Regions from separate parts of the Homo sapiens genome. Here all the other regions are linked to region 3. Evidence: promoter capture Hi-C in 16 types of primary human blood cells and fetal thymus (Javierre and others, 2016). All regions are on one chromosome and are shown on one strand. Each heading gives the region's core, a stretch centred on a gene start or on the middle of the fragment in contact. The rest is flanking DNA. Distances are from core to core; before and after follow the strand shown.

Region 1 (2,700 bases), core at 170-2,669, 200 kb after region 3:
TAGCTCCACAGACTACACTTCCCCATTCAACCTCTGGGGGAAGAAAAGGGATCCTCTGGTGGTGGTAAGTCTAGAACACATTCCTGTCCAGGAACCAGAAGGTCCACAGCAACAACAACACAAATCCATACATTAAAAAGGACTGCCTTTTTTTTTTTTTTTTTTTTTGAGTCGGAGTCTCACTCTGTTGCCCAGGCTGGAGTGCAGTGGCGCGATCTCGGCTCACTGCAAGCTCCGCCTCCCGGGTTCATGCCATTCTGCTGCCTCAGCCTCCCGAGTAGCTGGGACTACAGGCGCCCGCCACCTCGCCCGGCTAGTTTTTTGTATTTTTAGTAGAGACGGGGTTTCACCGTGTTAGCCAGGATGGTCTCGATCTCCTGACCTCGTGATCCGCCCGCCTCGGCCTCCCAGAGTGCTGGGATTACAGGCGTGAGCCACCGCGCCTGGCCCAGAACTGCCTTTTAAAGCAGCAACTTAGGTGTGTTTTCCGTCATCGCTGCTGTTGTGTAACACTTTCCAGGTCACTCCTCAAATATAAACAGTGCAAGCGTTGGAGGAAGGGCACACAAGGAGAGGAAACTATCTGCATGGGGAAAATGTCATGATTTTATTCACTGCATTAATTATTAGTTTAACCTCAGCTTGCTAAAAGGTAGCACATTCCTAACAGAAGAAATGAGCTTTCCATTTGAAGATCGAGAAAGGCAGCCTGTGTTTTTTCTCTGTACCGTACATTCATCCGCTTAGTGACTATCTACTGGGCACCTGCCTGGTTCTAGTCACCCAGCTCCTGCAAGGCGGCAGTAAGCGAGACAGCCTCCCTCCTCCACTAAAATGATGAAATGGCAAAGCTGCTCAAGCGCCTCGCACCTGAGTGCCGCTCTATGAACCTGCTCCCTTCACCTCACTAAGCTTCATTTTCCTTCCGTGTGAAATGAGGTCACAGCGCCCACCCTGTGAGGATTCAACACTGTTGGTAAAGTGCCTGGCACAGTGCCTGGCACACATGAACACGTGTGGACAGGGACACATCATTGCACTGCAGTCATTCATAAGCCACATTGAAAATAAACATCAAGCTAAGCCTTCTGCATTTTAAACTTATCTTTTATACCAAAAAAAAGTCACTTGTTATGTCGCTTTAGGAGGCATCTGTCACTTACAAGTGACTTTTTTTTTTGTATGAAAGGTAAGTTTAAAATGAAATCGCTGGGCCGGGTGCAGTGGCTTATACCTGTAACCCCAGCACTTTGGGAGGCTGAGGTGGGTGGATCACCTGAGGTCAGGAGTTGGAGACCAGCCTGACCAACATGGTGAAACCCCATCTCTACCAAAAATACAAAAAAATTAGCTGGGCGTGGTGGCGCGCAACTGTAATCCCAGCTACTTGGGAGGCTGAGGCAGGAGAATCACTTGAACCCAGGAGGCAGAGGTTGCAGTGAGCCGAGATCATGCCATTGCACTCCAGCCTGGAAAACAAGAGTGAAACTCCATCTCAAAAAAAAAAAAAAAAAGGCTGGGCACGGTGGCTCACGCCTGTAATCCCAGCACTTTGGGAGGCCAAGGCGGGTGGATCACGAGGTCAGGAGTTTGAGACCAGCCTGGCCAAGATGGTCTCTACTAAAAATACAAAAACCCTGTCTCTACTAAAAATACAAAAATTAGCAGGCGCAGTGGTGGGCGCCTGTAATCCCAGCTACTCAGGAGGCTGAGTGAGACAGGAGAATCGCTTGAACCCAGGAGGCGGGGATTGCAGTGAGCTGAGATCGTGCCACTGCACTCCAGCCTGGGTGACAGAGCAAGACTCCATCTCAAATAATAATAATAATAACTGACAAGTAAAATAATAAACAAATAAAACAAAATCTAGAACTTTAACTGGGCAGCAGCATTTAAATACAGTATGTTGAAATTAGAGGTGGTGGCTAAGCTTGGGAAGGTACTGTTTCAATGAATAACAAGATCTTCTTGGGACAAAATTTTTTTCTCTTGCTAAAACTGAAGGGTTTTTTTTGGTGGGGGGGGGGGTGTTGCAGAGATGGGAGGTTGGTATTGTGTTTTATCAAACAAATAAGGAGGTTTACTGGCTAGATAAACTGTGCCAGCCAAAGTTCAGTGACATCTCCCTCCCTGCTCCCAGATCCACTTGGTTTATTTCACACATTTCCCTCCATGCCTTTCATTCCCAGGATTTGTGGAGGGGCAACACATGATATTGTACATTTCAGAGCTTCTTCCCCTCCTCCCAGAAAAGTGCATGTTTCCTTCACATGAATTCTACCTGGAGGATTCTGTGGCAACCTTTGGAATGGAGGTGCTTTGCTGGTTACTGAAGATCGTTTCCAACTGACAGTATTTCAATTATATACTTGTTCTACAAAAATGGAATCATTTGGGAACAGAAATCCAAAAACACTCTGCAAATACCAACAGTTCCACAGTCAGGGGCCAGTTATCTCATTATGTCTTACCGCATCTCTTCCAGCAGGGCAAAGGGGGGAAATGGTCATTTTTAGTAACTGGTGCCAGCTCTGATTTTAGGAAGGAATGAAAGGAGAAAGAGTACAGAACCCCCATCTGAAATGGGGTCTTAAAGTTCCCCCTGCCTTTCATCTCTTCTTGCTGTTCAGGCCCTCCTCACCCCAGACACGCATCTGAAGAGTTTCTGAGAAGTGCTGGAATTTTGTTAGCAAAACAGAA
Region 2 (2,700 bases), core at 155-2,654, 230 kb after region 3:
CCTTACCAGTACCTGGTATTTTTAATCTTTTTAACAATAGCCATTCTGGGATAACATTACATCTCACTGTGGTTTTGATTTGCATAACTTTAATGATTAGTAATGTTGAGCTCTTCCTCATATACCAGTTGGCCATTTGTATGTCTTCTTTTGAGAAATGTCTATTCAGGTCCTTTGCCCATTTTAATGGGATTATTTGGTTTTGAAATTTTAGTTGAGTTTCTTATATATTCTAGATACGAGTCCCTTGTCAGATGAATAGTTTTCAAATATTTTACACATCTCAATGGGTTGCCTCTCCATTCTGCTGATTGTTTCCTTTGCTGTGTAGAAGCATTTAAATATCATAGAGTCCCATTTGTCTATTTTTGTTTCTTGTGCTTTTGAGGTCTTAGCCATGAAATCTTTGCCTAGACCAACGTTCTGAAGTGTGTCCCTTATGTTTTTGTCTAGAAGTTTTATAGTTTCAGGATATATGCTTACGTCTAATCCATCTTGAGTTGACTTTTGCATATGGTGAGAGATAGGGGTCCTGTTTCATTCTTCTGCATATGGATATCTAATATTTCTAGCACCATTTATTGAAGAGGTGTCCTTTCCCCTTGGCACCTTTGTCAAAAATCAGTTGGCTATAGATATGTGGATTAATTTCTGGGTTCTCTATTCTGTTCCATTGGTCTATGTGTCTGTTGTAATACCGATACCATGCTGTTTTGGTTACTACAGCCTTGTAACATCATTTGAACTCAGGTAGTGTGATGCCTCCACCCTTGTTCTATTCGCTCAGGATTGCTTTGGCCATTCAGGCTGTTTTTGGGTTCCACAGGAATTTCAGGACTTTTTTTTTTCTGTGAAAAATGACATTAGTATTGATAGGGATTGTACTGGATATATACATTGCTTTGGGTATAATCATTTTAACTACGATTATTCTTTCAATCCGTGAGCACGGGATGTCTTTCCATTTGTTGGTGTCTTCAATTTCTTTCCTCAGAGTTTTGTAGTCTTCCTTGTAGACACCTTTCACCTCCTTGGTTAAATTTATTACTAGGTATTTCTTTTTTTTGTAGCTATTGTAAACAGGATTGCCTTCTCGATTTCTTTCTCAGCTAGTTCATTACTGGTGTATGGAAATGCTACTGATTTTTGTATGTTGATTTTGTATCCTGCAATCTTATTGAATTTATAAGATCTAAAAGTTTTTTCCTGGAGTCTTTAGGTTTCTCTAGGTGTAAGATCATGTCATGTCATCTATAAAGAGGGACAATTTGACTTCCTCTTTTCCAATTTAGATGCTTTTTATTTCTTTTTGTTGCCCGATTGTCCTAGTTAGGACTTCCAGTACTATGTTAAATAGCAGTGGTGGAAGTGGGCATGCTTATCTTATTCCTGATCTTAGAGGAAAGACTTTCAGCTTTTCCCCATTCAGTATGATGTTAGCTGTGGGTTTATCATATATAGCCTTTATTATGATGAGGTATGTTCCTTTATGCCTAGTTTGTTGAGAGTTTTTATCATGAAGGGATGTTGAATTTTTTAAAATGCTTTTTCTGCAGCTATTGAGATGATCATATAACATTTGTCCTTCAGTCTGTTGATGTGGTGTATTATGTTTGTTGATTTGCAGGTGTTGAACCTTCCTTGAATCTCCAGGATAAATCCCACTTAATCATGGTGTAATTTTTTTTGATGTACTATTGGGTTCTATTTACTAGTATTTTGTTGAGGACTTTTGTGTCTATATTCATCTGGGATACTGGCCTGTAATTTTCTTTATTTCTTACATTATTGTCTGGTTTTGGTGTCAGGATAATGCTGGCCTCATAGAATGAATTAGGGAGAATTCTCTCCACTTCAAACTTCTGGAATAATTTAAAGATAATTGGTATTGATTATTCTTTTTAAGTTTGGTAGAATTCAGCAGTAAAGTCATCTGGTCCTGGACTTCAGTTGTAATGTCCCCTTTATTTCTGATTTTATTTATTTTTGTCTTTTGTTTTTTTTTCTTGGTTAGTCTAGCTAGTAGTTTACTGGTTTTCCCTATGTTTTCAAAAAGCCAACTTTTCATTGATCCATTGAATATTTTTTATTCTGCATTTTGTTTGGTTCTGTCTGCTCTTCATTATTTCTTTCCTTCTACTCATTTTGGGACTGGTTTGTTCTTGCTTTTCTAGTTTCTTAAGGTGCATTGTTAGATTATTTATTTGAAACCTTCCTACTTTCTAGATGTAGATTTTTATTGCTATAAACTTCACTCTTAGCACTGTTTTTGCTGTATTCCATAGATTTCGGTATGTTGTGTTTTGATTTTCCATTGTTTCAGGAAATTTTTGGACTTCCTCTTTAATTTCATCCCTGACCTAATGATCATTCAGGAGCATATTTAAATTCCCTGTATTTTTAGTTTCCAAAGTTTCTCCTGTTATTGATTTCTAGTTTTATTGTGTTATGACCTGAGAAGATATCTGACATTTCAATTTTTCAAAAATTGTTGAGACTTGTTTTCTGTCCAAACATAACCACATGGAACTGGAGAAGGTTCCATGTGATGATGAGAAGAATGCATATTCTGTAGCTGTTGGATGCTATGTTCTACAAACGTCTCTTAAGTCCATTGGTCTAAAGTGCAGTTTAAATACAATGTTTCTTTGTTAATTTTCTATGTAGATGATCTATCTAATGTTGGAGTATCCAGCTATT
Region 3 (2,700 bases), core at 138-2,637:
CGGGTTCAAAGGATTCTCCTGCCTCAGCCTCCCGAGTAGCTGGGACTACAGGCATGTGCCACTACGCCCGGCTAATTTTGTATTTTTAGTAGAGACGGAGTTTCTCCATATTGGTCAGGCTGGTCTCGAACTCCCGACCTCAGATGATCCGCCTGCCTCGGCCTCCCAACGTGCTGGGATTACAGGGGTGAGCCACCGCGCGCGGCCCAAAGTGCACTTTTTAATATGCCTTCACTATTCAACCACGGGCACTCATGGGCCAGAAAGAACAAAGGCACAGTTAACTCCACTGCTCTGGAGAAAAGAAAGCTGACAACAAGGAATCTGATGCCTTCCTTCAGTGGGAAGGAAACACCCTGACATTGGAAGTGGTCTCCACACCGGGTTGTACACTGATGGGGGGCGGAGTCGGGGGCAGGCCAACACCTCAACAGCAGTCACCAAAAAGGTGCTTTTAACTATCAATAGCAAGTATTAACATGTTTATAGATTGCTGCTAACAGCTGGCCAAAGAAAGGTACATACAAATGCCCCTTTTTAAAAAACAAAAATAGCAAGGATTGTAACCGTAGGGGTGGGGGGCGGGGTGGGGGAAGCACACACTAAAAATCAGTTTGGGCAGAATTTAAGCTGTTAAATGGACACACTTAGCAAACTCTCTGGGCTCCATCGGCCCCCACCTCCCCTCTGGAAACATCGCCTCGCCCAGGAATTAGGACTGCGTGTATGTTCGCCTAACACCTGCTGCGGCCTCCAGCGACATCGTCGCCGACAGGACTGCGCTGGCACCCTCCCTGCTGGGCTAGTCCTGTCTCCGTCACTAAACGCCTGTGACCTTAGGTAAACTGCTTAGTCTCAGTATTCTCATTCGTAAAATGGGGATGAGAACACAGTCGTCGCAGGATCGCAGCCAGAATTCGTTTCATTCAACACGGTGCCTGGCACTTCTATGTGGACCTGCGGGCAGACGCGGCGACATTCAACAGAGTCCAGGAACCGCAGGCCCCGCGGCCTGGGCGGTCAACCTCGGAACCTCCTGCAACGCTGGCTCCCGGGAAGCAGACCCAACTCCGCGGGGCGCCTCCACCTGCCAAGCCCCTCCAGCCGCGCCTCTCCCCGAGCCCGCCAGCGCCGTAGGGGCCGCAGGGCGCAGGGCTTCGGAGGACCGGAGGCCGGGGCGGGGACAGCGACCCGGCGCCCACCCCGAGGGCCCCACGCGAGGGCACCACGTCCCCGGCGTCTCCCCGGGCTCCAGGGGCAGCAGCGCGGCTCGGAGCCCTTTACCTGCCAACGATCACCACGCAGCCGGCCGCGGAGGACGCCATGGTTGGGCCGGGGACGCGGCGCCGCGGGCGCTGGGACCAGGCGCCGGCGGAGCTGCGAGCTCTGGGCTCCGGGGAGGGCGGGTCCCGCGCCCATTGGCTGCGCGCGCGGACCGGGAGGGCGGGGAGGGCCGCTTGGTCCCTGAGTGGGGTGCGCGCCGCGGGCCCGAGACACCGGGAGACACACGGCGCGCCGACCCTCGTGGGCAGGGGCAGGACCAGCGCGGGGGCACGTCGGGGGGTGGAAAGCGGGAAGACCACGCGCTTGTGACTGTCAGCATTCACCGTGAAGTCCGTGTCTATAGGAGGGGACACGGGCAGGCTGGCACGGGCTCTAGCGCTAAAGCACCCTAGAGAAACTGTCAGAGAATGTCCCCTTTGCTAATTCGTCTCTGAAAGACGCCTGCCGCTGCCGCCAACTGCGAACTGGGCGCAGGGACTGCGACAGCAGTGAAAGAGAACACCTGATGCGTTCATCTGCGCTACGGAAGGACACGTCTGAATTCCTCCACGGAGCACACTCTGCACTCGGTTTATGTATCAGAAAAAGGAAATGCCCTCGTGCCCTGACTCCTGGCCTTCTTGGAGCCCGGAACAGACCAAGAGGAAGGGGCATCACACATTGCCTGACAGTGGTGTGCGTCCACACAGCACAAGCTGAACGGGAAATGACACAGTCATTAGACAGAGGAGACAGTACTCAAGCTGGAACCGCAGCCAACACTGAGATGATAAAAGGAAGTCTTCCTTTGTTTCCCCTGAGTCAGGAACGTGGAAAGAGAAATCTCAGGGGAGGGGTTAGGTTTTTTTGTTTTGTTTTGTTTTTTAAAGAACAGTTTCACAAATTATCGATAAATATTTGTAAAGTATTCAACCTCAAGAGAAATGAAAAGTAACACAAGGAAGATAAGTCATCTCTCACTCATCAGATTGGCTAAGTCACATGGATTGATTATATTCCCATATCCGTAATGGAGTGTTTCGGACATGCAACTTACACACAGTAGAAGGCAAGCTTAAATGTTGAGGACTTTTTGGAGGGAATGTTACAGTACATTGTTGAGACAGCCGCTAGCCTGAGCAACCGCGCCTGCTCTGGCTGAGAATACAAGGCTCCAAAGCTTCCATCTTCTGATGGAGCAGTTTCTGTAGTCAGTTACACAGGCAGCCAATATAATAATCAAGGCACCCAGGGAGTGAGCATCCTGTGACTGCTCACTACCGGAGGCTATGGGGGCAGCAGACTGGCTTGTTTGCTGCTCCCTGCAAAGTCATGCCTGAAATCCCAGCGCTTTGGGAAGCTGAGTAGTAAATAATAGCTTGAGGCCAGGAGTTCAAGACCAGCCTGGGCAACAAAGCGAGACCCCTGTCTCTACCA
Region 4 (2,700 bases), core at 38-2,537, 180 kb after region 3:
GAGGCTGCTGGAGTGGAGCCCTGGGAAGCGCCCTCTGAGCCCCTCTAGTTTAATAGCCTAAGGAAGGAGTGGGGATAATTGGGAAAGAAACCACACCATCAGGCAGTGCATGAAGTGACATGAACAGTTTCGAGAGTATTTTGGTCTTGGAACAGAGGTCATTTCAGAAGAAAGGGACAGCCTGCAGAAGGGGAAGGCTGGAGAAGTTGGGGGCGTGTAGGCAGGGTGCCGCAGTGTCCTCAGCAGGCACCTGTGACCGTCTTCCCTCTAGCTGGAGCAGGAGGAGCTGCCCTAGGGGGCAAGGCCTCCCAGGGCCACAGAGGTCAAGAAAGGCTTCGTGAAAGAGCTGAGTCTTGATGGAGGAGAGCAAGTCGCCTACAAAGGCAGTGCTGAGGGAAGGGACAGCTGATAGCAAGCGGGAACAAAGCGCTTGGAAAATGGGGAGAGCCACAAGGCGAGCGGGGGCGGTGGGGGTGGGGGGGCGTAGGCGAGGTGTTTGCCTGTGGGGTGGGCATCGATGTAAGGCTGGAGACAGGTGCAGGAGCTGGATCCCCGCCTTGTCAGCAGTGCAGAGCTTCACCCTCACGCCTGGAATCCCAGCACTTTGGGAGGCCGAGGCAGGAGGATTTAAGTCCAGGAGTTCGAGACCAGCCTGGGAAACATAGCGAGATCCCATTTCTGCAAACAATTTTTAAGGATTAGCGAAGTGTGGTGGCACGTGCCTGTGGTCCCAGCTACTCCAGAGGCTTAAGTGGGAGGATAGATTGAGCCCGGGAGGTTCAGGCTGCAGTGAGCTGTGGTGGCGCCACTGCCTTCCAACCTGCGTGACAAAGCGAGACCCCGTCTCTAAAATAAAAATTAAAGAGAAAAAAAGTCTTGACACTTGAGATGGAGGAAGCCATACAGCCACTCTGGTTTAGGAGGGTGTCCCAATGGGGCATGGATTGGACAATGCTCTCCAGCACTTCCATCCAAAGGATCTAGGGCTTCACTCAGGCAGCGCGGTGGGAAGGGGAGACTAGGATCAGCGTGAAAGATGCTCATTAAAGAAGACAAGTGCTGTGGAGAGTCAGAGGAAATGTGATGATTTTGTCTAAAACGCATCTGGGCTTTCCTGGAGCCTCTCCCTGCCGGCTGCTGGGTAGGGAGATTTCCTTTTACTCAACAACACACAGGACCCCTATGCTGTCCTGGGAAGCCAAGTTTTAGGGCCTCCTGCCTCCTGGCTACTCTGCAGAGGACCAAGCTCACTGTGGCAGAGCCCCCTCAGAGCCCCTGCCCACGGGGAAGTTGGGTGGGACCCCTCCCGCCCTTCTCACTCCTGTCCTTCAGCTGGAGCCTGCAGGGCACACACATGGCGCCATTCATTCTGGTATCTTGGTGCTCTTGCTTTTCCTCTCTCTTCCTCCATTTCCAGGACCTGAAGGGATGGACTACGGCATTCTTCTTTCTCTAACCTCGTGTTATGCTTCTGATATACCAAATAGGATTAAAGCCACATAAGGAATCTCTCAGAACCAGAGATTAACTTCTCTGGACAGAAGCTGCTGGCCCTGCTTTCTATAGCAGATTCGAACTCTCAGGCAAACCCGTGGCTCCCCACAGGCTGGGCCAAGGGCCTAAGAGTAGTATATAGCCTCCCAAAGGCATGTCTCTCATGTTTCTGGCTTGGGTTGTTGATGGTATTTGAGCAAAATGAGAAAATACACTTAGGAACAAGTGTTGTGGGAGGAAATAATGAATTTAGTAACAAGCCTGTTGAGTTTTGCCTGCCTGAAAGGCGTACAGGTGACAATGACTGGTTGGAGCTCAGGAGACAGAGCAGGGCTGGAGGACACATGGAGAGTTAGCAGCACTGGCATTCTGTGTGTGGGAAGTTAAATTGAGTTGCCCTTGCTACAGATGACACCTATGTCGCCCCAGGCAGGATCTGGGAGCCGAGGGAGGTTATGGATGAGAATGACACACAGGGTTCGGGGATCGTGGTCTGGGCCACCCAGATCTGCCCACATGTGGAACCTCAGTGCTGGGTGGTCCCAGGAGCAGGAGTGGCAGCTGCAGCAGGGTGGCTGAAGGTGTCATGTGCATCATTTTTCATATTATTTAGCAACAGTGATGAGATCACTCCCCATGGGCAAACGGAGGTGGGTGGCTTATATTTGCTGAAGGAAGGACAGTCTTCAGGGGATGGCTGCTGGGCTGGGACTCCAGATTGCTGACTGCCAAAGCTGCTCCTGCATTTTCCTGCCAGGAGAGCCCTCTCTGCCCTCCTCCCTCCAATCACCTCTCACCATCTTTTGGGTTATTGGGAAGATTAGAAAAAGTGAGACCCAGCCAGGCCCAGTGGCTCACCTGTAAATCCCCGGCTACTCAGGAGGCGGAGGTGGGAGGATCACTTGAGCCCAGGAGTTTGAGACCAGCCTGGGCAACATAGTATGAGACTTATCACTACAAAAAAAACAGCCAGGTGTGGTCATGTTTGCCTGTGGTCCCAGCTACTTGGGAAGTTTGAGCCAGGGAGGCTGAGGCTGTAGTGAACTATGATTGTGCCTCTGCACTCCGGCCTGGGCAACAGAGTGAGAACTTGTCTCAAAAAAAAAAAAAAAAAAAAAAAAAGGAAAAGAAATAGTGAGCCAATGGAAGTGTGGAGCCTCTACTAAAAGATGTTGTGGAAGGACAGGTTTTTTCTTTTAGACAGAA
Region 5 (2,700 bases), core at 1-2,500, 150 kb after region 3:
CGCCCGGCTAATTTTGGGTATTTTTAGTAGAGATGGGGTTTCACCATGTTAGCCGGGATGGTCTCGATCTCCTGACCTCGTGATCCACCCGCCTCAGCCTCCCAAAGTGCTGGGATTACAGGCTTGAGCCACCGCGCCTGGCCAGTTATATTTTAATATTCTAGTCCAAGTTTGAGCATGGCTAATTAACACCTTTCCACAGTTTTGCTGGGGCCTGATGGTGTCACAAGCAGAGAATGAACAAGTCATGCTCAGTGCCCACAAGGGAGGACGAGACAAGGAGTGTACGCTCTGAGGAGGTGCATAGGCCTAAATGTAGAGGACAGGCCGACACAAGTCAGCCAATTACAGAAGGAATTGCTGGACATCTATGTGGGGAGGGAGTCTTGAGAGGCCGGGGGGCGGGTGCTGTCACTTCTCTAAGGATCATGCCTGTCAGCCTCAGTCCCAACTTGCATGTCCCTTTACCCCATAAATCTAGACCACAGTTTTGCAGGATACCCGAGTATCCAGCCCACTTTGTATACGGTATGTATCACAAAGGAATCTTGATGAATAATAAGTATTAGAAGATAGTGAACAGCACCAGAGCACCAAAGTAGTCTCAGTGTTACAGTTCCAGAAAAAGTTTGCCTATGCCAGTATACCCAGCTGGTGTAACCTGCCAATGTGTCGTCTGTGTTCTGATACAGTAATTCTCAGTAATTTGGGGTGTGCAGACTTTTTCTGTAAAGGGCCAGGTAGTAAATAGTTTAGGCTTGCAGGCCAAGTCTCATCTACCGAGAATATTCCACTCTGCTGTTGTGTATTGAAAGCAGCTGTACACAGCGTGTAAGTGAATAAATGTGATAGTGTTCTATAAAACTTAATTCTTGGACACTGAAGTTAGAATGTTATATGAGTTTTATATGTCACAAAATATTATTATTGTTTGCTTTTCTTCCTAACCATTTTAAAATGTACAAATCATTAGCTTGCTGGATAGACAAAAATAGGGTGGGCCAGATTTGGCCCACACACTGTAGTTTGCTAATCCCTGCTCTAAGCCAAAGTCTCCATGAATACTTTTGGTAATGACAGGTGGGGCCTGGGAATTATCCTTTTGATCAAAGCACTGCTTGAAGCCATTTCATCCTGGTATACAGCTTGAACAGTAAAAGTCTGTATCAGTGAACTTCTCTTAAAACCACCTTAGTTGTTTACAACTCACCCACCTTACTAAGTCAACACACATCACAGAGCATATGATGAGATTTTGTATCTTCAACAGAACATGCTCCTTAACTCTCGCCCTTAGCCTGTTGCCCTGAGTTTTCAGTCCTTGTCATAATCCCATTCCTGGCATTCATTCAACATCCATGGACCACCTTCCTGAACTCATCACATCTTATGTGAACAAGTTACTTAAATCTCTTTGTCACAGTTTCCTCATCAGTAAAATGAGACTGAAAACAGTACCTTCCTGATAGGGTTGCTGAGGAGGAAATGGGCTCATGTGGAAAGCTCTTAGAGAAACTCCTGATAAGGGCAAGCATGTGCAAGGGTGAGCATGGCTACTGTGACTCCCGCCTGACAAAGGGAGTGCATGGGCAGGGCCTGGAATACCAGTGTCCACTGCACTGCCAGCGCCCATGTTCTCACCACTGCCAGTGTGTGACCTCTGAGTGTGAGAGCCTCAGTTTCTCCCTAACACAAGAGGGTCATGTTTATCCATGCAGTGTAACCAAGTGTACCCCTGTCTCACTGTTGAGTTGAATTTTGTTTTTTTAAACAAGAATTACTAGTGCTTATAAATAAAAATAAATGTTGGTTCTTGAAGTTACCAATTTGGAAAGCTGAATATTTACTTCAGTAATGCTGCTGTTAATCAAAACATTTGTGAAACTCCTTTTTTATAATTGCCTGCAGAGGCAAGTTACAAAAAGCACAGGAAATTGAATCCAAAACTTTTACAAAATACATATGCACATACATACATATATATGCATACACACATATATATGCATGCATATATCCTATCTGTAAAATATATACACATGTATTTTATATATACGTGTGTGCTCATACATACAAACACACATTTTATGAGTTTTTACCCTCTTTCCCTTCCTACCTTTCTGCTGTTTTATCTACAGATAAGCATTTTCTCACGTTTTCTAGCCATAATAAGTACTCAGTAAATACCAACATTCTTCCAGCTTCACCTCTCATATCCTCTTTATATGCTAGGTATTAAGTATTTAAGTTTGCCACATAACAAATATATAATGTTACCTCCTTTGTTCTCTTCACTGAGTCCCTCCAGAGTCTCCCTCTCCTCACTTGAGTATTGCCTATACAGTAGCTATCGGCGTTCATTTTTACAATTTTAATATATTCCTGTTAGGTTTTGTTGGGTAATAATGTAATGGGATCAATAGAAGTAGGGGGTGAGGGTTGAAATCAAACTGAGAATTGCAGCTGTAACAATGTAAGAATGAGCTGAAATTCTCAGAGTAAGGCTAGGTCCAAGCAATGGTCCTTGTAAAATTATCAGAGTATTATGTCATCTGAGCTGATAAGGTCATTACTTTCTTGGACTGTTGGTTGGGAAAGTACTTTGGATCCCTAGCTGTGGTGCGCTGCCTCTTAACTTTGGAAAGGGACAGGAGCAAAGGAAGATCAGCTTCCTGGTAATAAGAGGATAGGCCATTTGCAAGT

Evidence for each region. The method cuts DNA at HindIII sites, captures the fragments that hold promoters and counts their contacts. A CHiCAGO score of 5 or more calls a contact.
Region 1: a contact is called between a fragment that was not itself captured here and the fragment with the promoter of CRYL1 in region 3, in 4 of 17 cell types (M1 macrophages, M2 macrophages, endothelial precursors and 1 more). The highest score is 6.2, in M1 macrophages.
Region 2: a fragment that was not itself captured here is called in contact with the fragment with the promoter of CRYL1 in region 3 in 1 of 17 cell types (M2 macrophages); the score reaches 5.1 in M2 macrophages.
Region 4: a contact is called between a fragment that was not itself captured here and the fragment with the promoter of CRYL1 in region 3, in 15 of 17 cell types (endothelial precursors, megakaryocytes, M2 macrophages and 12 more). The highest score is 14.1, in endothelial precursors.
Region 5: a fragment that was not itself captured here is called in contact with the fragment with the promoter of CRYL1 in region 3 in 1 of 17 cell types (M2 macrophages); the score reaches 5.2 in M2 macrophages.

The regions. Positions count from the first base shown.
Region 1 is chr13:20,723,502-20,726,201 of GRCh38, forward strand. No RefSeq gene overlaps it. Among named protein-coding and RNA genes, the nearest start is that of IL17D, 21 kb to the left of the region's middle. The HindIII fragment of the contact is 1,018 bases long and covers 911-1,928 here.
Region 2 is chr13:20,750,835-20,753,534 of GRCh38, forward strand. All of the region lies in intron 2 of EEF1AKMT1 (EEF1A lysine methyltransferase 1), which reads right to left. Among named protein-coding and RNA genes, the nearest start is that of EEF1AKMT1, 22 kb to the right of the region's middle. The HindIII fragment of the contact is 4,519 bases long and covers 1-2,700 here.
Region 3 is chr13:20,524,470-20,527,169 of GRCh38, forward strand. CRYL1 (crystallin lambda 1) reads right to left here and starts at 1,388. Exons shown (of 8, transcript NM_015974.3): 1 at 1,285-1,388. The coding sequence starts at 1,325. RefSeq lists a silencer at 1,064-1,613 and an enhancer at 1,794-1,903. The HindIII fragment of the contact is 5,179 bases long and covers 1-2,335 here.
Region 4 is chr13:20,704,850-20,707,549 of GRCh38, forward strand. The region is part of intron 1 of IL17D (interleukin 17D); the gene reads left to right. Among named protein-coding and RNA genes, the nearest start is that of IL17D, 2.5 kb to the left of the region's middle. The HindIII fragment of the contact is 7,364 bases long and covers 1-2,700 here.
Region 5 is chr13:20,674,870-20,677,569 of GRCh38, forward strand. All of the region lies in intron 24 of IFT88 (intraflagellar transport 88), which reads left to right. Among named protein-coding and RNA genes, the nearest start is that of IL17D, 27 kb to the right of the region's middle. The HindIII fragment of the contact is 3,313 bases long and covers 1-2,700 here.